Linked DNA regions of Homo sapiens: all the other regions are linked to region 3. The links are contacts of gene promoters, found by promoter capture Hi-C in blood cells and fetal thymus (Javierre and others, 2016). All regions are on one chromosome and are shown on one strand. The core of a region is centred on a gene start or on the middle of the fragment in contact, and the rest is flanking DNA. Distances in the headings are between cores, read along the strand shown. Region 1 holds the start of SLAMF9 (SLAM family member 9). Region 2 holds the start of IGSF8 (immunoglobulin superfamily member 8). Region 3 has its middle 4.0 kb from the start of TRR-TCT4-1. Region 4 holds the start of PIGM (phosphatidylinositol glycan anchor biosynthesis class M). Region 5 holds the start of VSIG8 (V-set and immunoglobulin domain containing 8). Region 6 holds the start of KCNJ9 (potassium inwardly rectifying channel subfamily J member 9). Region 7 holds the start of SLAMF8 (SLAM family member 8).

Region 1 (3,713 bases), core at 482-2,981, 820 kb after region 3:
CACAGTGATCTGGGGCTCTGACAGCCATCCTGGATGAAGGGGAAACACAAAGACCCTCTAAACAATCAGGGATCGGGTCTGTTTTCCTAAGCTCCTCAAACCTGGGGTACTAATGCTACCCCTTGACAGCCCCTGCACCTAAACAACAAATAGGCAAAAGCAAACAAACCCAACCACCATAAAACCTGTGGTTTCAAGGTCCCCAAGGCAACTGTCAAGGAAGACAGAGCTGCCTTTGGCATCTTCCACCTCCCCTTTACGTATTCTCTCTCTTACTTTTGTACTCTACCTTCCTCCAAACCCCATTCTGTCTCCTTGATCCCATGAAATATTATCGCCCCTCTCAGGGGCATTTACATTTTAATCAGTGTCCCTTCAAGCTTCAAGGTAGATGCAGTGTGACAGACACTAAGAAGAAATTTGGGTTCAAGTAAAGAGAAGATACTCATTAGTAGCCCTCATCACACAGGGAAATAAAAGGCTCAAGAATGTAGGTGGTGTTCATCCCCAGAACACAATTTCACTGGAAGAGAAAAGCCCCCTACAGGATCTGTACATGAAGCCCCTGATCCCTGCCACTGCATCGGACAGCCTCCTTGCTCCAGGTCACTCCGCCTGTTGCTGCGGTTCAGATACAACAGGTGGATTGGGCACACTCAATCACAGTATCTAGATTGGAGACAGTCTGCCTCCAGTTCTAGCCCCTCAAACCATAACCCCAAGTCCTGAGACGCCCACTCCATGGTGTGAGAAGCTCAGAAGAGCCCCCAAAACCAGCTTTATGGTTCCCAGCCTAAACTCACGGTAGACACATATATTGTACTGCTGCATGGTAGAGATCTGGGATGTTCTCAGGTTGACTTGAGCTTGGTAAAGCCCTGAATCCTCCCAGCTCAGATTGCTGATATGCAGGGAATAGCTGGGGTCCAGGAAGCTCACTTGGCCCTGGTAGTGTGGATTGGTCACCATGATGGTAGCTGGATGTCCCTCTTTCCCTGGCACCACAGTGGCAAGACTTTTGTGAGAGGACCAGATGATGTTCTCAACCTCTTCATCTGGTGGTATTTCCAGGGGGAGGCTGATGGACTCCTGAAGGACCGCAACCACTTCCTCGGATCCACACCATCTCCAGAGTCTCCTTTGGCTGCCTATGCAGGAAGAAAAGAGAAGCAAACAACCCAGCTGCTGTCTCTGGGCTGCTGAACCTGGCAGTGGAGCTGCCAGAGTAGCGTAATCTCAGCTGGGCAGCTTCTATGACTCTCACACTAAATCCTGTTCTCCAGCTGCTGCTTCTGACTCTAGATTTCCCCTTTCCCTGAGTTAAGCACCTAAAAGGAGTTTGCTTCCATCTGTCCCTTCACCCTCCAAGTTTTACCTTCTCCTTTGCCATCTTGGGATTGCTCTTTCTTCCATATCCCCAGGTGTCTCTCGGTCCTGCCCTGAAGCCACACACCCTACTCCTTGTAACTCCAGAAGAGCTGACACATTCAACCCCTAAGAAAGGGTCTTACTGGCCCAGACCCAGTGGGGCAGGGGAACAGAGGTGTAGGGGACATTCCTGTGCACGAGCTGGCAGCTTCACTCACCCTCCTGGAGCAGCAGGAGAAGAAGCAGCCAAGGAAAGGCACACATGTCAGCAGCCCCCAGCCCCAGAGGTGTGATTCAGTCAGTCAGTCCCCAGGACTGTGCAGAAGACTGCATTAGGAGGCTCCTAGACACAAAGAGCCTGACTGATGGTCCTGAGAAAAGGGAAATAATTTTCCCCTGACTACAGCCCTCTGACGTCCTCTGTCCTCACTAAGCCCCTCCCTATGTATCATGGCTCTCTTAGTTCTCTTTCAGATCCTGATTGTCATGACAGTTTACTCACTGACTCATGATGCCATCCACCAAACTCAGCCCAAATCCCACTTCCTAAATGAAGTCTTTCAAGACTTCCTACCCGCCCCAGGTCCCCGCACGTACTGCATGCCCCGAACTCGTAGAACATTCCCTATCCTGTTATTTGGCTCCCAGGATATTCTTCCCTAGCTCTCTCTGGGTAATTCCTATGTTGCTGTGATCATTTGATCTTATAAACATCTATATCTCCCCAGACAGACTTCATCTTTCATTTCCTGTGTATGTCCCATTATTGCTGGCCCCATACTAGACATGTGTCTGCACTCAATTGATAGCTTTATAATGGATGAATGATTAAGCCTTTTTATTTAAAGCTAGTTATGTTCCCACCTGAGAGGCTATTCGCAGGGGAAAAACATTTGATTCAATCCTCTTTAAGAAAGCAGTTTGGCCGGGTGCAATGGCTCACATCTGGAATCCCAGCACTTTGGGAGGCCGAGGCAGGCAGATCACCTGAGGTCAGGAGTTTGAGACCAGCCTGGCCAACATGGTGAAACCCCGTCTCTACTAAAAATACAAAAATTAGCTGGGCATGGTGGCGTGCCCCTGTATGCCAGCTACTCAGGAGGCTGAGGCAAGAGAATCACTTGAACCCAGGAGGTGGAGGTTGCAGAGAGCCAAGATTGTGCCACTGCACTCCAGCCTGGGTGACAGAGCAAGACTCTGTCTCAAAGCAAAAAAAAAAAAAAGAGAGAAGAAAAAAAAAAGTAGTTTGATCAGAGAGTTGATCTATGTTGTTCATATTATGAAAAGACTTTAAATCGTTTTGTGAGAATACAATGTTGATCAACTTATATGAATTCAGATTCAAGAAGAGACTGCAGAGGATCAGGGTTATTAAATAGCTTCCTGGCAGTCAAAGCTGTTCTGGATGCAATGGGCTGCCTTAGAAAGTAGCTTCTGTCCCTAGTATTCAAGCTAAGAGGACAATCACTTGCTTGGATTATCTGCAACATCTCTGCCATCAGATGGATTCTCAGACTGGATAATCTTTAAGTTTCTTCTAATAATCAATTTTATGAGTCTGTGCTGTGAAGAGTGGTGTCTCAAGACCAAGGGAACAATAGAGGAAGACGTATTCAGCTTTGGTCTTGTGCCAACATTTCCTAGTTTTAGGTTAGCAAATTCAGAAATCTGTTAAATGTTTATTGAGTAGCTTCTATGGTCCATACACTGTCTTAAGTGCTGGGGAATTAACAGTGACCAAGAATTTTAGATCGTGACTTCATGGAGCTCATAATGCTAACAATTGACATTGGACAAGTAACTACAAGTTTGATGAATCTTACCAAAGGAATAATTGAAGGAGCCTATAATAAGGCGATTTGGCAAAGTTGGAGTCAGGAGGGTTGGGGAAAAGCTATCAAGGAGAGATATTTAAGATGAGACCTTAGTTCTTCAAAGATTGGTAGAATCTGCTTAGTGAAGAAGATAATGAAGTGAGTAGTTCTTAAATTTCAATTTATGAGTATAAAACCTGAGGGATTAGAATTTTTTCTTAAAGGTGAACCAGATTTCAGTCTGAGTATAAAACGTTTTTATGTAATAAATCTGTTTAACAAATAAAATTAGATCCAGCAATCCCACTGTTGGGTATACATCCAAAGGAAATGAAATCAGTATGTTAATGAGGTATCTGCACTCCACGCTTATTGCAGCACTATTCACTAGAGCCAACATATGGAATCAACCTAAGTGTCTATCAATGGATGAATGTGTAAAGAAATTGTAGATATATACACAATGGAATACTATCCATCCTTAAACAAAGAAGGAGGCTGGGCAAGGGAGCTCATGCCTATGATCCTAGC
Region 2 (4,185 bases), core at 463-2,962, 960 kb after region 3:
CAGAAGGCCCCCTCCCATTTTCCTGGCTCCACAACTGCTGATGCTTGGAGATGCCCATGGGAAAGTCACCTCCACAGCCTTAGGAAATCAGTTGCCACACAGCTCTCTCTCCCCTCCTCTGTATCAGTCGCAGCAAGGAAAGGGACAGCAAAGAGGCCTGCTTTGGAATCAGATCTGTGTTCAAATCCTAGCCCCAACACTCACTAAATGTGCTCTCTGGGGCAAGTTACTTCATTTTCCTCATTTGTGAAATGAATGTAAGTGCCCACAGGCAGTGGGTGCTCAGACCTCTGCGTGCTCCTTTTTCAAACACAGGCCAGCACTTCCCCACCTCCCTGGGCTCCTCCCTGCTCCATGCTGCCCACTGGGGAAAACACACCAAGTGCTAGGCAACCCAGGCCCCACAGCGCCTTCCTCTCTGTACATCCTCCTGCCACCTGCCCAGGGACCAGGGAGAGGACTCATCCTAACCCTGCAGGGCCCAGGGACCTGCAGCAGGGGAAGGCTTTGCTTGGTGCCACTGTGGAGCTCTGGTCTAGAAACAGGCAGCTGGGGCTACCTTCAGCCTCTGCCTTGACGACAGCAGCTCTGAAGTCACCATCCCCACCCCCACGCTTCACTCTCATTTCAAGGGCTTCAGCCTCATCAACATCTGTACTGGCAGTTTCACTGTCTCCATGCCATACTCTTCCCCAGACCACCTCCTACAGGGAGCCCTCCAGTTCAGGCCAAAAACAATTCCACTGTCATTATCCCCATGCATCCATGCAAGATTGGCCCAGAACACCCCACCATGAACACCCACCACAGCAGGCACAAGGTGCTTGGAGATCCCAGGATCAGTCTCCATGGAACCTGGTTTCTCCTGAGGCAAGGAAGCTGGAACTAAGCGGTGTGAAAACTGATGGGTGGCTGCAGAGCCAAGTGCCATTTGGGAGACAGGAAGAAGGGCAAAGAGGGACCCAACCCAGGGTGGAGATGGGGGTGAGAGAGGGAACTGCCCCCAGTTGATGAAGTGCGTGGAGCGCAACTGGGAGAGACTTACTTCAAAGATCGTGGGCAGAACTGGCCTCTGGGCCTCCAGCCAACTCTGGGGCAATTATGAAGCTGGGCAGGCACTGCCCTCGTAGGGCGGGCACCCAAGGCCAGGCCTGGAGCTGAGTGTGGGGCAGAAAGGAGTCGCAGCATTTGGTGCAGCGACCCCAGTACGTGGGTATGCTAGCTGAGATGTGTGGCCTGCCCCGGGAGGCCGAGCAGTGCCTGGGGCAGCACCTTAGTGGGTCCTCTCTACGCCCCAGTCCCTGGCTTAGAGCTGGGGAGCCTGCACTCTTCCCAAGACTGGCTCGGCGGACAGCCACAAAGCGCAGCTGGACGCCGACCCCGGGGAGGCTGGAGGTACCCCTGACGGAGGAGGATGTGAGGAGCCCCGAAATGCTAGGGGGGTGCTGGATGGCAGGCACCTGCCCGGCAGGGCCGGGAACCGGAACGGGGGCCTGGCTTACCTAGCATTAGCAGCAGCAGCAGCGGCAGCGAAGGCGGCAGCAGCGTGGGCCTGAGGGCGCCCATCCTGCGCGGCCAGCTCTGGGGAGGCTCCGGGGGATGGCGCGGGTTCTGGGGGGCCGGAAGGGTGGGGGGCGCATGCCCAGGTTGAGGGCAGGAAGCGGGGCAGCGAGGCGTGGGTGCGCCGAGCGAGCTGAACTGGAGCTGCCGAATCCCCTCCCTCCGCCCCTCCCGCTGCTTTCCCTCCAGCCCTCGGCAGTTCTGAAACCATTCTCGCCCCGGCCCGCCCCGGCACCGCCCCTTCCACCGCCCCGTCTAGGCCCGCCCCGCCCCGGACCCAGCCTTGGCCCTGCCTGCCCCACCCCCGCCAGACTCCGGCCTTTGCTCCGCACCTGGCCCCGGCCCCGCCCCGCCCCTCGAAACTCACCTTTGAGTCGCATCGAGTCCCAGCCCCGCCCCGGCCCCGCCCCTCCCCGCCCCGCCCCGCCAAGACTCCAGCCCTGGATCCGCCCCGGGCCTCGGCCCAGCCCCAGTTCCGGCCCCTCCCCCGCCCCGCCCCACCAGGACTACAGTCGGACTCCAATCCTGGCTCCTCCCCGGGCCCCGGCCCCGCCCCAGTCCCAAGCCGCACCCCTTCCCCGTCCCCGCAGGGCTAACGTCAGCCTCCAATCCTGGCTCCGCCCTGGACCCCGGCCTCGCCCCGCCCCTGGCCCTGGCTCCGCCCGAGGCCCCCGCAGGAGTGAGCTAACTGCACCTCTGCGCATCGAAATTCCCACCCACCCTCGCACAGAGCGCATTCCACCCCGCACCTGCCAGCCTTTCCTGGAGAGTTGGGTGCAGGGTCCCTGGGATTGGCGAGGTGACTGTGACCACGCATTTAGAATTCAGTTATTTGCTCTGAGCCATAGTCCTCGCTGCAAACCCTGCTGAAGTAGGGGTTGGCGGAAGCCAGGAGTTCCTGAATGCGAAGGGTTTGAGCTGAAGGGCGCTTCCAGGATCCAGAAGGTCACTGGAGACCTGTTTTTCACCCCCTCAGAGGGCAAAACCAAAAGAAAAATGGATTAGGAGAGGGGGCCGTCCATGTGACGTCATTTCTGGGTTGGGTGATCCTAGCCCAGTTGTTTAACCTCCTTCAACTTCAGTTTTCTCCTCTGCAAATTGAATTGAGGTTGATCACATCACCCAAAGGGTTATTGTGATGATAGGTAATGTACATAAAGTGTTTGGCACAGGAAACTAACACAAAATGGGAGATAAGGATTATTTTGTTTTAGGTTTTGAATTATTATTTGAACTGCTTCCTAAGAGGCTTAGTTTAGACCTGGCATTTAGGTGAAGGAGTCTCTATGTTCAGTGACAGTGGGAAGAGATGAACATTGCTCTGTTCTAGGAAGAGTGGGGCTTGCCCTGGAGGTGGGAGAATGGAGGAGGCACCCTTCCCAGGTGCTCTGTCTCTTCCTGAACTGTAAAGATGGGAAGTGGGCAGGGGCAGGAAGGATGAGACCAGAATGGGGAGAAGAGATGGCCAGGTTTGCAAAGCCAAGGCTGTCAGAGTGGCTGTCAGTGGGAGGTGACCCCAGAGCCCATTTACCACCCTCTACCCTCCAACATCCTCCCTCTCCCCTCTCATCCCCCTTCCCTCCCACTCACTCACCCCCCTTTACAGAAGAGGAAACTGAGGCCCAGAGAGGGTAAGTGGCACAGGCCAGACCAGACCTTCCTTGACATGGTATTCCTCAAGCGTGGCACAGTGCCTGACTCTGAGAAGATGCTCACGGGGTTGCCAGTAGAAGCCACATTGAGGAACCCTGGAGAAACCAGAGAAACTGAGGCCTTGAAGGGAGATCAGAGGTCCAGCCCTCACTTCCCAGGACTGCCAGCACTGGCCCATGAACAGGGCAATAAGGTGCCTGTTTATTCCCACTTTGAAATATCCAGAAGGTTGCTCCAGAACCTCATCATCTAAATCCATCCACAGGCATATCGAGCTATGTGAAAACTGAAACTCATAGGGGAAGCTTTTGGAAGAATACGTCTCTCCCTTTATAATGGATTTAATTATCGAGTGGATTTAATGCCTTCATGATGCTTGAGGGATGAAAGATGTTACCAATTGTAATAATGATAGATGTCATTTATGAAATGCTTACACAAGAAGGCCCTTTTGGATATTAGTCCTAGTCCTTATAGCATATTTTGCAAGGTGGTGTCATTTAACAGAAGAGAAACTTGAGGTTAGGCAGGTTAAGTACCTTGCCCAAGGCCACACAGTTTTTAAGTGGCTTAGGGGTGACTTCAGCCCAGGCTTGTCTGTCTGTCCCCAAAGCCCCAAATCTTCCTACACCTCACTGTCCCTCCTCCCAAGCCTCTCCACCCTGTAAACTCAGTCATTCAACAAATATTGATTGGGCCAGGCCTTGTACTGGGCACTGGAGATGCCATGGTAAACAAGGTGGGCCTGCTCCCCTGCCCTCAGGGAACATAGTTCTATATGTTAGGGATACATTTCATAAACAAGTCATAACCAACCCCCAGTATGAGTATGATGAGAGGGGTCTTCAGGGAGGTGAGGTATCCTCTCTTACCCTGTGGCCTGGGGCTGGGAAGGAGCTGGGGGCAGGTTGGCGTTGAGAACTGGGTTGGTGTCTCCCTCCAGAGGGGATAAGGCCCAAGGAGAGAACAGTG
Region 3 (3,952 bases), core at 60-2,559:
AAGTGGTCTATAGATGTAGCAAAGGAAGACAAGTTATCAGCAATTGTTAGTGATTGCCAGAAGATGCTCCCTTCAGATTCAGGACTGAGCTGGGTCCACAGCAAGGAATTCACCCAGAAAAAGATTTGTCCTGGAATACAACAGCCAAGCCCTCGTCTCCTGTCTCTTCCCAGCTCCCCAGGCATTTGTTTTTAGTCTAATTCCATCTCTGTAGACACCAACCTGCCTTCTCAAAATAGACACACTCGCCCTCATCCCAGGCTTTAAAGCCCGGCATTGCCCCACGCAGAGAAGTCCTAACACGACCCTTTCCACGGGGACTAGAATCTGAGGATTGTTGTAGGACTTCTCTGCTCGTAGCCCTAGAGAAAAATCTAGGCCTTTTACAGTGATCACTATGGGCAGAACGTACTCTTGGAGGGTAACTACTATTTAAAATACATTATGCATGTCTTGACTTCCACTAGGACTCCGCTTGAAGAAGAAGATGGTTAGAAACATGGGCCACAGATAAAATCTCTCAAGTCCTCACGCACAGCCTCCAAGAAACTAGCTTGATCCATACAATCTGAAGGTTTAGAAAGAATAACTACAAACAAGGAGGTTAGCATTTGTGTTTGCACCTCCTATGTATCTACCTCGACAATTTTACAGCTTACCCTATTTAATTCTAGGTATTAGTTAGATCATTTACTAGATGAGAAAATCAAGGGACTTAGACTTAGTGCATGTCTACATTCATACAAGTAAATAGCGAGACCTCAGATTCAGACTCAGATCTGTGTCATTACCATGAAGTTGCTGCTTCTACTATGCTCATGGTTATCAACTTCCCTTATCATAATACGCCATTTCTCACCATTCATTCTCTCAAAAGAATCATCACTGAACAATATTACCACCATGGAAGCAAAGAGATCCAACTAACTTCCAAGGAGCACATAGTTCAAAGATATTCTATTCCATTATAATTTATAGCAAGTACTAAGGACATAAACACTGCAATCATGTTTTCTGGGATAAGGTCTATTTGCTACAGCTTTACATATAAGCAAAATGAACATTTTTACCATTAGGTAATAACTATTGTAATGACAATAAATAAAAATAACTAGTTTAAAAATAAGTGATCTCGGCCAGGTAAGCTCTCCAGAGATGATAAATCACTTTTGTAGGTGGACTGTTACAAAACCCTCCACCTCTGGTGGTACAGCACTACGGCTTGGGAATCACCGTGCCACAGCTTGCTGCTTCTAAAGGCTTTGGGCCCAGGAGACCTCTAAACCTGCCTACATATCTGACTCTATTCTCTACCTGTCTATTCTATCTCTGTCTGTTCTCTACCAACAGATAAAATTTGCCTTTTAACATAGAAACCAGAACCTCCACTCAAACTCATCAGTGGTGCTCACTAACATTTAGAAAAGCCTCACCTCCAAGCCTTATGTCAGTGATTGCCAGTGGCACTAGAATTGCCCCTCAGAAGTGGTTTGAAAATTTGATGGAATAGTTTTTGTTGTTATAATGATTGGGGGCCACGGTTAGCTGTAGAGAGGAAGAGCATGCTGGACTTAAGAGTCCCAGAATGTGTAAGGGCATCTCTCACAAAGAGGAATTGACCCATGATGTATACTCCTGAATGACCTATTAAAACCTACGTGCTGGGGCTGGGCGTGGTGGCTCACACCTGTAATCCCAGCACTTTGGGAGGCTGAGGCGGGTGGATCACTTGATCTAAGGAGTTCAAGACCAGCCTGGCCAACATGGTGAAACCCCATCTCTACTAAAAATACAAAAATTAGCCGGGCATGTTGGTGCGCGTCTGTACTCCCAGCTACTCAGGAGGCTGAGGCAGGAGAATGGCTTGAACCCAGGAGGTGGAGGTTGCAGTGAGCTGAGATCATGCCACTGCACTCCAGCCTGGGTGACAGAGCGAGACTCCATCTCAAACAAACGAACAAAAATAAAACCTATGTGTTGGTATCTGAGCTTAGAGTCTAACTTGTTTTTATATGTTAGAGAGTTTTCTGCATGATTTAAAACTTCCTAAATTTTCCAGGAATGCAAAGTACTGCGCATTTTGCAAGAAGACTTACTTTGCTTTGATCAAAAATGTATCCAAAAGTGTTCACCAGTCTGGAAAACCAGGACGCTGCTGGTGAACGACATCCCTCATGAGATTTAAGTCAGCAGTGCAGCATGCCTGCACTGGTCTGCATATGTAGCTGTTGCGTTCAGGGTGGGTCTTCATATAGGTGCAAGGGTGCTGGTATGGCATTTATGTACTAAAATGTATACTATTTATTATAAGTTTATTTCTTTTTATTCCTCTCTTACATTACAATTAGGGTATTATATTGATTAGTTTTCATTATGGGCATGGGAAAGTTATGTTATCTATGAATTTCATTGCAGGTTAGTAGAGAAGAATTGAAGAAATAATGGACCTAACAAGGCAGAGTTGGATGTCATAGGGTTGAGAACATTGTCCTAGATGGTGTGCCCTGTATCAAACTCTAATCCCAACTCTTCCCATCACTCCCTCCCACTCCACCACACTGACCTGTCAGCTTTCCAATCAGGCTGGTGCCCACATCAGAGTCTCTGCTCTTGCTGTTTCTCTGTTTGAAATGCCCATCCCCTAAATCTCATTGCCCTCACTTCACTCAGGTCTTCACTCAAAAGCCACCTCCTCTGAGAGGTCTTCCACAACCATCATTCATCACATCACTCTCCATCCCCAAGCATCCTTTAAATTCCTCCATAGTACATATCACTACCTAAAATGCTATTAGCTATTATAATATTTATTTACCTGTCTGTCATTTGTCTTCATCATGGGAATATGTATTCCATGAAGAAGGTGGAATCTACTATTTTGGTGCCTGGAATAATGGGAAGTGGCATGAAGTGGGTGCTTGATGAATATTTGTTAAATAAGTGAATTAATGCCTGAAGATACTGTCTGTGCTCCTGCTCCCTGGAAGCTAGGAGTAATCTCTTTCTCTTTCCTATCTATATAATTTATAGTCAATTGAAGTCAGCATTAATTCTTTCAAATATATCCATCAAATGCCTACCATATTTCAGGCACTGAGAATACAATAATAAATAACACATATCCTGCCCGCATACTTTTCAATTAATGATCAGCTCCAGCATCTCTGAAGTATTTGAGTCCTACAGTGAAGTGACTTCATAAAAAACACACCCATTTCTATTTTACATTCTGAGTATCTTTAAAATACAGTAATTATGATATTCATAAATTAGGAGATATCCCTTATGTATTCAGAAGAAAATTGTTATCACACACAGAAGAATTTTTACTCATGTGGAAAATCTTTTCCCCAGTCCTGGTGATATCCTTCAAGTCTCCAAAACACCACCCCTCAGGATGAAGAGAGTTGAAGGCTAGGCAATAGTTAAATAAGCAGAAGCTTCTAGTTCCCTTGAGTGGGGTAGCCAGGAGGACCCTCTACCTACTTGGCTGAGATAAAGTCTCCTATCTAAGGCACAGAGGGACCACATGCTCTCTGAAGGATCCTGCCAGCTAGAAAACTCCAATCAGACCTCTTAGGGTAGCACAGGGTGGCATCTGCCCCTGCTGATGACACACAGCCACCCTGGATGTTCCAGGCAGGGGCTGAGCATTCAGACCCTTTCCTTTCCCTATTTTGTGTCCAGGTACCCTCCCCGTATGCTTAGGAGAAAGACAAAAGCAACTTGAAAACTAACATAGCCTCTATATTTGCACAGTGCTGTACAACAAACTTTTCATCCATTTTTTACACTTGTAGGAAAGACAATATACTCTTTTTTTTAATACATAAGCAAATTAAAGTGCAGATGTTCGGCAACTTGGCAAAGCTGCTTCTTATACCGAGGTCTTCTGATTCCAAGATAGGGAATAGAAATGACAAGACAAAATCAGGCTTGGGGAATTATCTGT
Region 4 (4,246 bases), core at 298-2,797, 890 kb after region 3:
AGTAGCAGAGGGTGTGGAACATACACTAGTCATATTTGATTCTCTCTGTCAGGGGTTCTTCTTTGTAATGGGAAATAATTTGAATCAGGATGGAACAATTGATAAGAAGAAAGAACAAACCAGCTAACCAAATAAACAGAAAGGTGTTCTTTCCTTGAAACTCTAGAACATAGGCAGGAGCCAGCCACATGGCCTGCCCTATAAACCATAACATTAGGAGAACTACAGCTCTTTTCCAAGGCATTCTGACTAGTGGCATCACAAGAGGCAGTAAGCAGAGGTACCAAAGAAAGTACTGGGAGGTGCAGACTTTGTTAAAAGTCACAAAAATGGACGTATGAAGAAAACAACAAAAAACGAGGTCTCTGTAATAGGCGAAAGACACAGCTGAAAGCAAGATGAGCTGTGGCAGGAATGCAGCAATTCCCAGGGAAAAACTCCACTTGCTCTCTGCAGTCAAATACAGCATGTAGAAGTACGGAGAAAAGTTGTGACGGATATCCCGCCTAGTCAGGTGATAAAAGTAGGTGTGTTCCAAAAATTCCCAGCCGTACTCATAGTAAAAACCAAAGCTCAGGGCAAAAAACGTGAGTCCAGCAACTGCTACAAACAGCAGCACAGCCCGATTACACAGCCTTTTCAGGAGCTCGTACAAACAAGCCTGGAAAGTGTACCGGAATTGACGGAGGCTTTTGTCATTGTCGCGATCTGGAAGCAGGTGGAGGGTTATGGGAAGGATGTAAGTCACTGGATATATCTTCATATGCACCGCGAAACCATAGAATACAGCTGCACACGCGACGAGTCTTTTCTTTATCAAGTAGAGGACCATCAGGACCAGGGAGGCGACAATAGAGTCCGCATTACCGCGGCTGGATACTGCCATAGGCAGGGGGTTAAGAAGCCAAAAGACACAGTAGCCACAAGCCTGGCGGCGCCCCAGCCCCTTCAGCAGCAGCAGGCGGTATAAGAGGAAAGCGGTGAGGAGGTCGCAGCTGATGAAGAGAAACTTTCCAAAGAGCTCGCTGAGGTAGATGTTGGGAGTGAGGAGCCAACCCAGCAGCGGGGTGTAACGGTACGTGGCTCTCAGGTAAGGCGAGCGCCCCTCCGTGACGAAGCGCGCGGCGTCGGTGAAGACCTGGTAGTCGATGTCCGTATACCTCACGTGCAGGGTCCGGTCCTGGAAGACGCCATAGAAAACCAGGGCGACTCTGGCTAGAAAGGCCACACCAAAGACGCCGGCTGGAGCCACCTTCAAGTTCAGGAGCCATTCGCCCCAGTGCTTGGTGGAGCCCATGATCTGACCGTGCGACAGCTGCTTAGCCCCAGCTCCAAACTGCCTTCGTACTTCTAACCTTCCCTTCGGTTCTTTGCAGCAGGTGGCCGCCGCATCTCCCACCCGCCAGGCTGCCAACCGAAACGACTGCAGACTATCACATCCGGCATGAAGCCCCGCCCCCGTACTGCTACCTGTCTCCAGCCCCGCGCGGTCTTCTCAGCCGCCCGAGCCAAAAACTTGCCTTCCTCTGGATGGACGGTCTCGCTTCCGCTTCTTCTTCCAGCGGAGGCGGGATTTCCGGTCCGTGGGAGGGGAGACGTCCGCTTGCCGGGAAATCCGGCACTGGCTTGAGGATTTTATGGAGTGGAGTGAGATTTCTTTGTAAGTGACAGCCCGCCGCCCCCCGCCCTCTTCCCGCGCCCCATTTCCAGTCCTCAGAGGAAAACCCTCCGACGAGCAGCGAGCTGCGGGCTGCGCGCTACATCCTTCAGTCCTGGGCTGGAGATCCGAGAGTGAAAAATGTAGGAGTGAAAGGAAGATAAGCCTTCTCATGCTTTACTCCACTAGCTCGCCGGTATTCACCGGGGATTTGTGGGCCCCGGACAGGACAGGATGAGTTGAAGGGGGCTGAGTGTGTATGTTCCATGCAATATTGGAGGCATACTTATATTTTTAAATTACTAGTTGGTAATCAGAGATTCAGATTTAAGTGGGCAGCTTGTATTTTATCCGGCAACCCTAGGTGAAGGTGATGGGAAAGAAGACAGGAAAGCGTCACAAAATTCCTTAACTTGTCAGCCCCTTATGCCTCAGTATCTCTGTATTTGCTATTTCTTCTGTCAAAGTTGCCATCCGCTCTCCAATCACTCTGGCAAATACCTACTCAACCCTTCAGGCATCAGTGCAAGTGTTAGCTCCCAGCTCCCACTCACTTCCTCATCACGCAGAATGAATGACTTAGATGCCAGTCCCCTCCCCTGTCCGAGGATAGGTAGACTGGGGCGGACGGGATCTAAGTTCCAGAAAATCACTCACACAGAAGACCCTGCCATGCTACTAAAAGTTCTCCCAGTGCTCCAGAACTCCCTGGTCATTCCTTTGTTACAGCATTTGTCACACTGCTTTGTAATAACTGTTTTTGTTTGTTTTGCTCTCCTAGTTTTCCATCAGGACACTTTCAATTCTTCGGTATCAGAGATTATCTTGTTCTTTTCTCTACCTCAACATCTAACACAGTACTAGTAGCCATTCAGTAAAGTTGAATTGATTTTAGAGGTTCCTCCTACCAGAATATTTCTAGAGTGGCATCTTTGGATTGCTCCCAACTCCCAGTTATTTTCCCTTTTAAATATCCTTTATGTATGTCAAGGTCCCCTGCTCCCCCCACCCCACTCCAACCCTACTTCCATGAATTTCTTGCCAAGGACTGTAACCCATTAGCTCTTCCCTTTCCGTGGTTACTTAGTGCACTTACATAGTCCGCATTGTAGAATTTGATACTTTATTTTAGATTGTATTCATAGCCCTCACAAGAGATTATAGGGTTCTTGGGGGTAGAAATTATATCTTATCCTTAATTTTTTTCAATTATGTGTAATTTATTGTAGTCTTAGGCACATGGTAAATGCTTAGTAAATACTGACTAATTGGATTTTATAGAATAAGCCTGCTTCCTAGGGGAAGTCTTCTAGACTAGAATAAGGAAAAGGAGGTGACTTCATGCAGTCTGAACATGCAGCTCCCAGAACTACCTGCTGCTCATCCATCCTACACTTCAATTTATCCCTTGGAGATGAACTGTGTTAATCTTATATATTCCATATTCATATTGTGATAGCTCTATGTCCTTTTATATGCCTTGGTATCATTACATGCCTTAGATTGATAATTCTAACCATTTTTTTGCAGTATATTAGCCATATATATAGTGGCAGCACATCACCACTCATATAATGATGATTATGATGATGATGATTACTATTATTTATAATAGCTGGATTTGTTGAGGACTCATTTGCAATGTACCAGGCATTATGCTAAGTACTTTTCATGTAAGGTAGATATTCCCACCTTTACAAATGAAGAAAACCAAGGCTTATGGAGATTAAGTAATTTTCCCAAGTCACATAGCTAACTAGTGACAGTGCTAGAACTCAAAACCCAGTCTGTCTGACCTAGAATATCTTAATCATTATGTGGCTGACTTGCCAATAAAATGTTGATCACAAATTCTAATTTTCCTATGTTTTCTCTTATTGATCTCTCATCTTGATATTCTGGATATTCTCTCTCACTGTGACTCTTTCTACCTCTGATTTATTCTTTTCTTCTGCAAATAATAGATAAGTGAGGCTTAGTTCCCTAAGATAGAAAATATGGGAGGTAGGTGTCTGAGGATTAACTAAGTAAGGGTCCTTGTGGCTGGATTGGTTTCAGTAGTATAGCAGAAAGGTTTCAGTCAATCTGTCCCTACATGGCTGTCCTAGTAGAGAGATGGGAGGCACCAAATTTAGGCAGATAAGGAAACAACTAATAAAAAAATAAAATAAAAAAAAAACTAAGCATGTCACTGAAGTCAAAGGAGTGAGATGTAGATAGCAGTTGTGGGAACGAAGAAGAGACTGGAATCTGTAAAACAAATTGGACAGAGAGGTCCAACTTTAGTTACTATTTCTGGGTGGAAGAGATACATCACAGGGTCCGAGGACCCCATATTGAACTTTTTGCATTGGGTTTAGGGATTGTATTTTCTCACCTCTTTCTGAAAGAGTTACATTTTTTTCAAATGCTCAACTGTTCATTACCTCTCGGACTGTTACTTACAATCCTTCTTAATTCCCCCTTTCACTATCTGCTCCTAGATTTCTATCCTTTTAGAGCCAATGACTAAGGAAAGCACAAACATGGATCGCTCAACTTTAGTTTCCCTAGCAGGAACCTTGTCCTTGTTCACTATGCTGCATATAC
Region 5 (4,002 bases), core at 44-2,543, 730 kb after region 3:
AAGGGAGGGGAGAAAAGGCGGCTCCAGCTGAGGGTATTGATGCGTTAATGCAGCCAGTGCTGAGTTGTCCTCACACACCCATTGACACACCACACAGGGGGAAGTCCGGGTCCCCACAGCACAGCTGGAGCCTCCCGAGTGGACTCTGCCAGCCCTGCTCTCATCAGACAGAGAAGGGCTGCAGCTATCCTGCCGGAAATGTCATCATTCCCATGCAGGTGCACGCACCCACACACTCACATACACATTCACGCTCACACAAAGGCTGAAAATGTCACCCCGCCTTCCCAAATTCCTCCTTCATGCCCCTTCATCCCAAATCCAGACTGCAAGAGGGACTCGGAGCCCTTTCCAGTGATGTTGGCATAGAATGCCCCTTGGTGGAACTTGCCCCAACCTGGGCAGGAAGCCACAATGTCCAAACTTGAGCCCTGCCCTGTGGACCTGTCCTGGTGGGGTGAGAAGTCTCTGGAGTTGCCATCCCCACCACCCTCAGGCCTCATCCTAGAGTGGGGCACTGCCCTGTCATAGCACAGGGGGCCCAAGGCTGAGGTCTCAGGCCTGAGCTGTCACTGGCCATGATGGAAGAAACCACTCAGACTTACACCAGACTTAGTCTCTTGCCCTTTCAAGGCAAGTGACTTCCCTGCCCCTTGGCCCTGGCCTTGGGAGAGAAGGAGTAGCGTTGGGAATAGCACACAGTCTGATGAAAATTGATCCTTCCCAAGCTCCTCCTGAGCCCTCACCCAATGCCCGTGCTTACCCCTCTCCTACCCCACCTCCAGCTCCTGCAGAGCAATCAATCCCTCTCCTCCTAGTCACGGCATGAGCTTGCAGGGCACCTGCACACATGTGTGAGCCCGACAGGGGACATATAAAGATCCACTCAAAGACCTCTGCACTACAGACACACACCCTGAACATCAGGCACAGGGTCTCCTGGGGAAAGGTCCCCTGGTAATACCCACACCCGGCTGCAGCAGGGCAAGGGTGGGCAGCACCCTGCCAGGCAACTCAGGCAGCCCCAGGCTCCACTGTGAGCCCTTGCTGCCCCTTTCCTTCCCACCTAGCCTCATGCTGGCTACCCTGCCCCCTGCCCAGCCCCGTACCTGGGCTCAGGCACACGAGTAGAAGGTGGAATGCTCCTCCAACTCTCATGTCTCTAGGCTCGGTGTTTCCTCCGTCTGGGCTGGGTATCCCGTGGGGTCGTAGTGGTGGGTGTGAGGGGGTAGGTGGAGGGAGGGGGAGCTGAGGGCCCAGACACTGCCTGGGGTGGCAGGAAGGTGCAATGAGTGCCCAGCTGGGGAGCAGCTGGAGTTATTTCTATGGGAGGGAGGGGGCCTGGTCCCCGCCTTGGGGAGGAGTCCCAGGAACCCTAATTAGCAGGGTGACAGGGTGGCCTACCTGGGCATTACCCAGCCCTCACCCAAGCTCTTCCCTGTCCTAAGAGTGGCACAGGACAGCCAGCGGGACTTGTAATTAGGCACCTGTTAAACTTCACTTCCTCCTGGCCACATCCTCAGGGTGACAACAGTCACCTCATTTACAGCTTCCAAGGGCTCCCCTCACCACTCATTTGCTGCCTCCTTCCCTGGGGGAAGTGGGGAAGAGGAAGGAGAAGCCAGGCTTGGGAGAAAGAGTGGCCAGGACCTGAAGAGTTAATCCTGATCCCAGGGCATAGGGTTCCCCAGGAGTGTCCAGCCCACCTTCCCCCAGGCTTCAGGCCTTTCAAAGGGACTCAGGCCTCCTGAGCTGAAAGAGGAGAGAAGGGGTGTGTGCAGGAACAGAGTCTCCTCCTGGCTGTCCCCTCTGGAACTGTCCTCCACACCCATACTCGACTCAAGGCCATCCCCAAGTGTAGGGGACCCCTGGGAGCAGGGGTGCTATGGGGGGTCCAGGGTGTGTGCTAGGAGTAAGGTGACTGATGGGCTAGTGAGGGAGTGTTGGAGAGAACAGCGCCAAGAGGACCAGGGAAGGGGGTGCCTGTGTAAGCGTGTGCACCCCTCAGCAATGTCTGTGGGAGGGAGGCAGGATGTCTGTGTCAGGGTGTCTCTGTGAGGATGGCTAAGCCCCTCTGAGTGAACTTCTTGAGGGATCGCTTGGTGTCCTGGCTTCTCTGCCCAGAAAGAGTAGCCAGGTCTTGAGGGTTAATGCAGTCCCAGTATTAACTGGGTCCTTGAGACCAAGGACCCTCATAACCTGGACTGGTCATCGGGCTGACTAAACCAGCACAGTTCTGGGTAAGTTCGTGCTGGGGTGGGGAGGGTCCTGGTAGGCATGGGGAGCAAGTGAAGGGCCACCCCTTGTTGGCTTGTCTAAGGGGGACAGAATGGGCATGTGCCTTGTTGGACTCCATGGTGGGAGTCAGGACATGAGTGACCCCATTCAATAGCTCAACTCCCTCAAAGGAGTCAGGGACTGCCCCCATCCCTACCATGGGGCACAGAAAGGGCAGAGGAGGAAGAGTGTTAGGGAGAGTTATGGGGCTCAGGGATGCTGCCAGGGCCCACCCCTCTGGGGAAAAATAAGTCAGAACATTAAGGAAACACAAGGAGTCCACGCGTCTCTGCATTCCAAGCCGTTGCACCTGAACTCCCAACAATAACAGGGCGCTCTGAGACCTACCAGATGTACACAATGAATATCTTTATTTCCTTATTTATTTTTAGGTTTATGGGATTGTCCTGCTCCCTTTGAAGAGCAGGGATCATTATCCCCATTTTACAGATGGGGAAACAGAGACCTGGAGAAACATGGGGATTCAGCCAATGCGGCTGGTGCCTAAGCTGGGATACCCAGGTACCCAGGGTGTCAGTCCAGAGAGGTCCAAAAAATGGTCTTGGTGATCCTGTGGATTACTAGACCCACTCACGAACAAGAACCATGGAAGGTCAGGGTGAGTGGGAGGGAAAACAGGTCAGACCACGAACAGAGAGATTGAGGAGAAAGCAGTAACATTGTGGTTCCACTAAACTACAGTGCAGGCTTCAGATTTAATTGGGTTCTGGATGTGGGCTAATGTTAGAGCTGGGGTTAAGTTTGGGGTTAGTTGAATTATGAATGAGGTTGAGGTCAGATTTGAGGTTGGGATTAGAGTTAAGGTTGGGATTAGGGTTAGAAATACAGCTAGAATTGAGGCTCAGGTTTATGGCTGGGATTTGTGTTACGATAAGGAATAGAGTTTTAGTTTCATTTACAGCTCTGCCTGGGAATACAGTTAGGGCTAAATCAAAGGCTGGGTTTAGATTGATTTAGCATTGGGTTAGAACTAAGTTTGAGATTCACATTGAAATAGGCTGTGGTTAGGGTTGGAACATGGTTTAAAGACACGTAAGCAGCGGGAGTTGATGGGGATCAAAGATGAGGTTTTATTTCTAATATAGAAAGACTTCAGCCTCCATCTGCTAAATCCAGGTTTGGCTAGAATTTTCAATCCTTAGTGCGGGGAGACTACTAATGGCACATGTTGATTGGGGTCCCAAGACTTGGAGGAGGAAGCCAAATGTACACGAGCCCATCTAAGGGGTATGAGGCAACTAAATCCCATAGAGAATGGACCCTCTGAAGTCCTGCTCCACTACTAAAGCTCACCACCTGGCCAAGCTCCAGAAAAACATCTGGGGAGGAGACGCAGGAAGCTACTGACAATGAGTTGGGCTCTGACACCAAACCGAACTAGAAGATGGGGTCCATCAGAGGGAGTCTTACTGAGTGGGGAGGAGGGGTGGTCTGGATTTGGAGTCCTTAGGAGATGGGAGTTGGGAGAAACTGAGGGCCTACATGCTCCTAGAACAGCCACTTTATGGGGCACCACATGGGGGTCTTTCAAAGCCTGAAAGGGCAGAGTGCCATTGTTGTTTCCCCTTGACCCTCTGAGGCTTAATTGCTACCTTCTTGCAATTTGAGTCCTATAAAAGAAGCTGTCAGCCTTCCAGCCCTAAACCCTGAGCCCTGCAGGGTTTTCAGGGAGGGCAGCAGTGGGGAGGCTGTGGATGGGGTGAA
Region 6 (3,720 bases), core at 1,187-3,686, 940 kb after region 3:
ACAGAGGTGGGATTTGAACCCAAGTCATTGCCTCCTGAGCTTATATTATCCAGTACCGAATTTCCCACCTTGCCAGGTCATTCCAGGAGCTTCTAGCCCTCCGTGTCCATCTCTATGTCTTCCTGCTCCTCTAGCTCATATTTTCTTGATCCAAATTTAAAGGATCTGGATAAGAATAGATCCATATCTGGGATATAATAATACTGATAACAACAGCAACAACACTTTGCGTTTGTAAACCACTTTCTTCTCTTCATTATTTCCCTGGGGAAAAATAAACAATAAGATATTTCTGTTTCTCCAAATTTTGTTCTGATTTTTATCAGTGTTCCTGAAGCTATTTCAATATAGTCATGATCAATTTCTAAGAATATTTTTAGGTTCTGCTTTTTTATGTAACAGTGTGTTATATACACATTCACATATTTAAACACAGCAATTATTATGGCTTTACAGTAACCCATGATATTAATATTCCACAGATATTACATTACTGAGGCACACTAGGCTAAGGCTGACAACACCAAATGCTGGCAGGAATGTGGAGCAACAGGAACAGGAATTCGTGGCTGATGGGAATGCAAAATGGTACAGCTACTTTGGAAGAAAGTGTGGCAGTTTCCTAAAAAACTAAACATACTCTTACCATACGATCCAGGAATCATGCTCCTTGGTATCTACCCAAAGGAGATGAAAACTTACGTCCACATGAAAATCTGCCGATGGATGTTTATAGCAGCTGTATTCATCATGGCCAAATCTTGAAAGCAACCGAGATGTCCTTCAGTAGGTAAATAGATAAATAAACCATGGCCATCCTGAAATGGAATATTATTCAGTGCCAAAAAGAAATGAACTACAAAGCCATGAAAAGACATGGAGGAACCTTAAATTTACATTACTAAGTGAAAGAAGCCAATTTGAAATGGCTACATATTGTACAATTCCAACGACATGACATTCTGGAAAAGGAAAATTATGGAAACAGGAAAAAGAGCAGTTGTTGCCAGGGGTTAGGGAAGGGGGATTGACTAGGCAGAGCATAGAGGACTTTTACAGCAATGAGACTATAATGGTGGATACACATCATTATATATTTGTCCAAACCCACAGAGTGTACAACACCAAAAGTGAACCCTAATGTCAGCTATGGACTTTGGGCGATTATGATGTCAATGTAGCTTCATCACTTGTAACAAATGTGCCATTCTGGTGGATGTGTGGGGACAGGGGGCATACGGAAAATCTCTATAACTTTCCTCTCAGTTTTGCTCTGAATCTAAAACTACCCTTTAAGAAGTCTTCTTTTAAAACAATTTACAAAGCATGAGGTGATACAGATGTGGGAGTTTGGCTCCTGTCTCTGCCCAACTCTGTGACATTCGATAAATTACTTAACATGTCTCTGTTTCAGTTTCCTCATCTATAACTGGGAAAAATAACACCTGTCTTATAGAGTTGCCATGGGGATGACATGAGGCATGTGTCTCGTTCATATCCCATGCTCAGTGAATTAGTAGCAGCAGCCACTGTGTGTTTGTGTGTCTTTATCCCTCCTGGGTTAATGAGCTCCTTGTGGGCAGGGACTCACCCATTCTGTAACCACCCCATCTAACACACTGCCTGGCACTTGGGCTCCGCAGAAGTTTGCCGAGTGAATACTTAGTAAGCCCTAACCTAGGCTTTTCTCTCTGGTGGACATTTGGGTTGTTTCTAGGGTTTTTGCTATGAATAAAACACATTTCAAAGCCCTTTGTGGTTTTTTTGGTTTTTGTTTGTTTGTTTTTTCTTCGTTTGATCTGCTGACTCTGTGAAGCAGGCAGAAAGGGGATATTTGCTCTTGTCCACACCCTGGTACAGATGGAATAACTGTGGCTCAGGGAAGTGAAGTGACTCCTATGGGACACAGTGCAAATCAGTGGCAATAATTAGAACCCCTGACCCTGCCTCCCTTCCTTTAGTAGATCTATTTTCCTTCTAGCTACCGCCTTCTGGATCCATGGCCTCTCCAAAACTAGACCATGATGGTCAGCCTGACCTGAGAGCAGCACCTGCACGCAGAGACCCATGTTGAAGGTGGTGAGCTGCCAGCTACCAGATGGCCCTCTGAAACCCCAGGGAACCTAGCACCTTATTCTCAAATACATGAGGGCTTGTATTTTCCCCCAGGAAGGAGCTTCTTAGGAAAGAGCCAGCGTGCCAGCTTTGTTTTTCTTTCTTCTTCTTTTTTTTTTTTTCCTATGAGGGGGTGAGGAGCCAAGCTCTGAGTTGTCCAGGAGGAGGGACTTTGGCTAAAAATAGCTATGGCGTGTGGTTTGGATCAACCCCTAGTGGTACCCAGGACTGGGGAGGGGAGGGGGATGCTCTGGAGCTGTCGCCAGACTGGTTGCCGTGGAAACAAGAGAGGAGCAGGGGAGCCTGGGAAGTAGGGATGACACAGATAGCAAGTCCTAGTCAGAGCTGCCGCTACATTTAGGAGAAACAGCGGTGTCTGCGGCTCCCACCCTTCGGGGGGCCCGTGGGGGGGGCGGTGTCAGGGGCATGGACGCCACCCCCCAGGGGTCTCTGCTGCCGGCTACTCTCCTCTCCACGTGCTGTGAGTTGAGTTGCGGGGGACTTGGGGTTTGGGCCCCTATTTCCAAGGCAAGTGGGGGTTTGGGAGGAGCTGGTTCTTGGGGGAGTTTTCACCAGGTCTCTCCTTCCAAAAAATGAGCCCCCTTACTCCCCAGCTCTCTAGAGGGAGGAAGAGGGGCCCAGGAAAAGTGGTATTGCAATCTTCTGCAAAGGGGTCATAGCATGCACAAGAAATGAGGAGTAGGTTGGAGGAACTGAAATTCTTGGAGGGAAGATGGAGAAATCAAGTCCTTGATCTTGAGATAGAGGTAACAATTTCACACTTTTCCTTCCCCTGAGAAAAGTGCAGTCCCCCACTCAGGAAGACAGGATGTGGGACACATTCAAAATAAGGTTTACCTAGATCCCTGGGGCAATGGAGAGTGAGAGAGTTCTGGGGGTGATCCGACATCGGGGTTCCTTCCCCATCCCTGGGCAGAGAGATCTGTCTAGGCAAGCCGACTGGGGGTCAGATTACCTAAGACCCTGAGAGAACATCTGGAAGCCCACCTGGGACTAAAGCTAGGATAATGGGAGCAGGGTCGTTTTCTGCATGACCTGGGGTCTCTGAGCCAGTCAATGCTTACTCTTCCTGAGGACATCTGAGCTTCAGGGAAGGAAAAGGAAGCCCATTGTTGGGGGCAGGGGAAACCCTAATCTTCCATTGCCATGGGGCTCTTGGACCCTGTGTCCCCTGACTCCATGGACAATAAATGCAGGGGGTGCCCCTAAGCTCAAAGCCATTTCATTTTGATTTCTCTTCCTACCTTCTCTACCCCAAGACACACAAACACACACACACACACCCTCTCCAGAGTGCTGACTGCAGAGGACCTCACCCCAGAACATAAGATGCTGGAGTGCTAGGTTTAGAGTCACATACCCAGGCAGTTTCTCCCCAGGACCTGGTCAACCATCCAGGCCATCTGTGGTTCCTATGGCACACTCCTCCATCCCCCACCCACTAGCCAGCCCACGTTTCCGTGGAGTGGGAGGAGAGGATCATTCCCAGGAAAGAGAAGGGAAGGTGGAAGAGTCCCAAATCCTATTCTAAACCTTTCCCTGTATGGTCCATATCTCCTAGAGGACCCTGGGTGCTTTGGGGAA
Region 7 (3,897 bases), core at 222-2,721, 690 kb after region 3:
CTCCTTTCCTCATATTATCTAAACCATGCCCATCTTCAAGGCACAGCTCAAATTCCACCTTCTCAAGAAGCGTCCCCTGCCCAGATCCGCGAAGCCCTCTTTCCCACCCACTTCTGAGGACTGACTACCTGTTTGCACAAAGTGGTGTCTGTCTGCAGATAACCCTTCACTTTCCTTGGTGTACCTATCTCTACATTTTGGTTGTGAGTACCTGGAGGGCAAAAACCTTATCCCAAAATCCTCCTGCTCACCACCCACCCCCACCCCATCCTATATGCCTAGTTCCTGGCTGAGTCCAAAGCTCAGTGTCCAGTTTGATTGACAGGCGAGAGGCTGTGCAGGACCAGATACGATGAGCCACACTCCAGACTAGCAGGAATTTTCCTCAGGGGCAACACGTCCTCTAAAAACCTTCACTGGCAAGAAACCAAGAAACTTGAAGTGAGAAGAGAAACAGGATGAGGAGGGGATAACTGTGGCAAAATAGACCACACTTCAAAGGCTGAGGTTCAAGTTCCAGCTCTGCCTCTCTGTGAGCTCTGCAAGGGGCCTAACCTCACTCTGGTTTTCACATTTTCCCATTTCTAACCAGGTAACAAGATGATCCTCTCAGAGGAGAGTTGCAAGGCTTACATAAAGCCAGATGTGTAGCCATGTCTAGAATGTACTCACTCACTTAACAAATACTCATGAAACATCTGTAATGTGCCAAGCACTGAGGGCAACACAGAAGGGAACAAAAGACTGGCTAAACAGTCTGTGAAAACCAGAAAACTGTCATCAACAACACAGCAAGAGTAAAGAGGGAGGTGTGGGCATGCACAGGACACAAGGAGAGGGCCTCTCACCTGCCTGTGGTCAGGAAGCCTGGAAGGATGTCCTCGCCGACTGCACAGCCATGTTCTGTTTGCAAGGATAGAGGGAGCAGCATGCCTAGTCGGGGTGGTGGGGAAAGTACAACACAGGGAAGTGTGAAATCAGTAGTTCTGAGAAGGAGGCCTTCTGGCTTGGGATGGCTGGAGGGCAGAATGACTGTGGGCGACCAGCCTGGAGAAGAAGGCCTGACTCAGGAGGGCCTGCATGCAGAGCAGAGTTAGTCCTCATCCTCAGGTCCACGGGAGGCCACAGAAGCATTTTAAGCTAGAATGAGGATGACAGATAGTAGTGAGGCAGGCTGAGATGCAGGAAGGCCAGCGAGATCCAGCAAGGAGGATGTGGCTTGTGTGGGGGCTGTTGTCGCCACGTGTTAGCCAACCATGTGCATGTGAAAGAGGCTGACTTACAAGAATCTGCTCCTGTAAGCCCAGAGAGGCCCAGGGACAACTTCCACTTTATTCTGGATGTTTTCACTTTTGGGACATCCTGTTCTGAGTCAAGATTCCTCCTTCTGAACATGGGACTTTCCAGAAGGACCACAGCTCCTCCCGTGCATCCACTCGGCCTGGGAGGTTCTGGATTTTGGCTGTCGAGGGAGTTTGCCTGCCTCTCCAGAGAAAGATGGTCATGAGGCCCCTGTGGAGTCTGCTTCTCTGGGAAGGTAAGTGGGGCAGGCAGATAGCCTGTCCTCGGAGAGCTGAAGGCCCCTCCCCAGCTGCCTATGCCAGACGTCTGGGCAGGGATCCCTCGACCTGGGTGAGAACCCAGAAGCTGAGGGTGGGTAGGAAAGACTAGAACAAGCTCTTGGGCAACATTTTAAGCTAGGCAGATACAAAGAGATGCAGGGTCCTGGGAGGGAGGAGGTGGCAGCTTGAGGGGTATTCTTATCTGTGAGACATGAGCTGTTTTGTGGCCCAGAGCAGTAAAAACGGAGCCAGTGGGTGATACTGCTGGTTTGGAGAGAAAGTCGGCTGTGAGAATGGTGAGGACCCGGCAGTGTTAGCATGCAGAAACTCTGCAGAGTTTGAGGAGAGTAGCAGAGGGCAGGGCAGAGCAGGGTTCCCCACAATCAGCAGAGTGTGTTTTCAACAGCCTGTGGGGGAGCTGAGGTCCCTCCCTACAGGCCTTTATAAGGGGAGGCAAGTACTAAGTAGGGATGAGAGAGGCTAAATGTGGCCCACGTGGACTTAGGGGTGGCCGACGGTGGTGTGATGTTGGGATGGCTGATACACGGGGTCTCCTCCACACCGGGCGATCCCTCTATCCATCTGATGCCTGAGTTCCCTTCCTTGGTCAACAAGCAGCCAACATGACATGGGTCAACACTGCCGGGCCATGGATGAGGGTTTATGGGGTGCAGCAAAGATTAAGATGATATTGTTTACATCAGAGGCTCATAGGGACTTTGGGTTGCTTTGTTTCATCTCCTTGCCTGAGTTCCTGGCCCTGAGAGCTCCAAAGCCTGCAGATTTCTTCAATATTTCTAAACATGTGCAGGAAATCACACCTTAACCTCAAAAAAGGCCTTGGTCTGTTTGGTGAGACAAAAATAATTTGCCTTTTTTTTTTTTCTTTGAGACGGAGTCTTGCTCTGTCACCCAGGCTGGAATGCAATGGTGCATCTCAGCTCACTGTAACCTCTGCCTCCTGGGTTCAAGCGATTCTCCTGTCTCAGCCTCCTGAGTAGCTGGGATTACAGGTCACTGCCACTAAACCCGGCTAATGTTTGTATTTTTAGTAGAGACAGGGTTTCATCATGTTGACCAGGCTGGTCTCAAACTCCTGACCTCAAGTGATCCGCCCTCCTCAGCCTCCCAAAGTGCTGGAATTACAGGCATGAGCCACCACACCCAGCCCAAAAATAATTTTTCAAATGGCCCTTAATGATCAAAGATCTGTGTGACTGACCTGGTACAGACCCCTTATTTTTCAGTGGTACTGAAGCCTGGGGCAGGGTGATGTGTGGAAGGGCACACAGCTGATCTGTGGCAGCACCAGGAGGAGCAGGTAGGAGCAGCTAGGTCTTGGCTGACATCCAGTGCAATTCTCTTTGTGTGTTACATTCCTGCTCTGCATTAACACTGAAGTCATCTCCAGTGTGAGAGGAGGTTGTTGGGCCTGGAGGACAGTGAGGCAGAGGGGGACCGGAATTATCATGGCCGACTGAGCAACCATCCAGATCATGTCTCATTGACCAAAACTTCATCACCTCTTATTCTTCCCTACACCCTGTGCCAGCGACAGGCATAGGGTCAGTCCTCAGCAGGGTAGGTCATTTATTCAATACCATTTACTAGGCTTCTCCCACAGTCTGTTCTTAAACAGTGGTGGGCACTGGAAGCAAACGATGGGGAGAAAGAGCTCACGGTCTAGTGGGAGATGCTGACTCATAAACAGGCAATAAGAATAGAGGGATAAGGGTAGTCAGCATGGTGGCCCCAGGCCACTGTGAGAACACAAGAGAGAATATGTAACCTCTCTTGGTTACATTACCTATGAGGGATAGGGGAGGTCGGAGGAGGCAGTGATGCTACAAGAGTGGGCAGAAATTAGTCAGCAAAGGAGTCAGGGGGGCACTTCAAGGAGAAGCGTCTCCCATACACGTCTGACTCAAATATAGTCCCCCAAAACAGCATCTTGCTTTCTCACCCCCTGTCTGTTTCTCCTCCTGTTCTGGATCACAGAGAATAACATCCAGTGGATCCCAAGGACCTGGGAGCCGTCCTCGACTCCTTTTTCTCCTTCACTCCCCAGAGCTAATCTATTACCAAATCCTACTGATTACACACCATCTTCGTGTTTCTCAATTCCTCCCACTTCTTCCCATCCCGGTTGCTCCCTTCCTCAATTCAAGTTGCCGTCACTTCTCCACTGGACTAACATGAACAGCCTAAGTCCTGCCCACCTCCAGTGCATTCTCCACATCCCTGCTGGAGTGATCTTTCTAACCATGCATCTAATCCTGTTACGCTCCTGCTTAAAACCTACCTGAGACGCCCCATTGCTCTACAGATAAAGCCC

The links. The method cuts DNA at HindIII sites, captures the fragments that hold promoters and counts their contacts. A CHiCAGO score of 5 or more calls a contact.
Region 1: the fragment with the promoter of SLAMF9 here is called in contact with a fragment that was not itself captured in region 3 in 2 of 17 cell types (neutrophils and megakaryocytes); the score reaches 7.4 in neutrophils.
Region 2: the fragment with the promoter of IGSF8 here is called in contact with a fragment that was not itself captured in region 3 in 1 of 17 cell types (neutrophils); the score reaches 5.3 in neutrophils.
Region 4: the fragment with the promoter of PIGM here is called in contact with a fragment that was not itself captured in region 3 in 5 of 17 cell types (M2 macrophages, endothelial precursors, neutrophils and 2 more); the score reaches 11.7 in M2 macrophages.
Region 5: the fragment with the promoter of VSIG8 here is called in contact with a fragment that was not itself captured in region 3 in 5 of 17 cell types (neutrophils, erythroblasts, total CD4 T cells and 2 more); the score reaches 7.0 in neutrophils.
Region 6: a contact is called between the fragment with the promoter of KCNJ9 here and a fragment that was not itself captured in region 3, in 2 of 17 cell types (neutrophils and endothelial precursors). The highest score is 6.9, in neutrophils.
Region 7: the fragment with the promoter of SLAMF8 here is called in contact with a fragment that was not itself captured in region 3 in 2 of 17 cell types (endothelial precursors and erythroblasts); the score reaches 6.7 in endothelial precursors.

The regions. Positions count from the first base shown.
Region 1 is chr1:159,952,506-159,956,218 of GRCh38, forward strand. SLAMF9 (SLAM family member 9) reads right to left here and starts at 1,732. Exons shown (of 4, transcript NM_033438.4): 1 at 1,587-1,732; 2 at 804-1,148; 3 at 1-29. The coding sequence starts at 1,632. LOC124904438 (a long non-coding RNA gene) reads left to right here. Exons shown (of 3, transcript XR_007066684.1): 3 at 1,072-1,157. The HindIII fragment of the contact is 4,086 bases long and covers 379-3,713 here.
Region 2 is chr1:160,096,907-160,101,091 of GRCh38, forward strand. IGSF8 (immunoglobulin superfamily member 8) reads right to left here and starts at 1,713. Exons shown (of 7, transcript NM_052868.6): 1 at 1,503-1,713. The coding sequence starts at 1,566. RefSeq lists enhancers at 1-374, 375-901, 3,990-4,185 and a silencer at 1,468-2,297. The HindIII fragment of the contact is 5,064 bases long and covers 1-3,516 here.
Region 3 is chr1:159,135,710-159,139,661 of GRCh38, forward strand. It overlaps a transcript of AIM2 not described here. Among named protein-coding and RNA genes, the nearest start is that of TRR-TCT4-1, 4.0 kb to the right of the region's middle. The HindIII fragment of the contact is 4,258 bases long and covers 1-3,438 here.
Region 4 is chr1:160,030,443-160,034,688 of GRCh38, forward strand. It overlaps PIGM (phosphatidylinositol glycan anchor biosynthesis class M), which reads right to left and starts at 1,548. Exons shown (of 1, transcript NM_145167.3): 1 at 1-1,548. The coding sequence starts at 1,297. The coding sequence ends at 26. The HindIII fragment of the contact is 5,226 bases long and covers 1-4,246 here.
Region 5 is chr1:159,861,364-159,865,365 of GRCh38, forward strand. VSIG8 (V-set and immunoglobulin domain containing 8) reads right to left here and starts at 1,294. Exons shown (of 7, transcript NM_001013661.1): 1 at 1,110-1,294. The coding sequence starts at 1,158. LOC107985216 (a long non-coding RNA gene) reads left to right here. Exons shown (of 2, transcript XR_001738263.2): 2 at 1-4,002. RefSeq lists enhancers at 1-709, 710-1,622. The HindIII fragment of the contact is 16,901 bases long and covers 1-4,002 here.
Region 6 is chr1:160,079,102-160,082,821 of GRCh38, forward strand. It overlaps KCNJ9 (potassium inwardly rectifying channel subfamily J member 9), which reads left to right and starts at 2,437. Exons shown (of 3, transcript NM_004983.3): 1 at 2,437-2,596. The HindIII fragment of the contact is 8,750 bases long and covers 1-3,720 here.
Region 7 is chr1:159,825,402-159,829,298 of GRCh38, forward strand. It overlaps SLAMF8 (SLAM family member 8), which reads left to right and starts at 1,472. Exons shown (of 5, transcript NM_020125.3): 1 at 1,472-1,537. The coding sequence starts at 1,498. The HindIII fragment of the contact is 24,464 bases long and covers 1-3,897 here.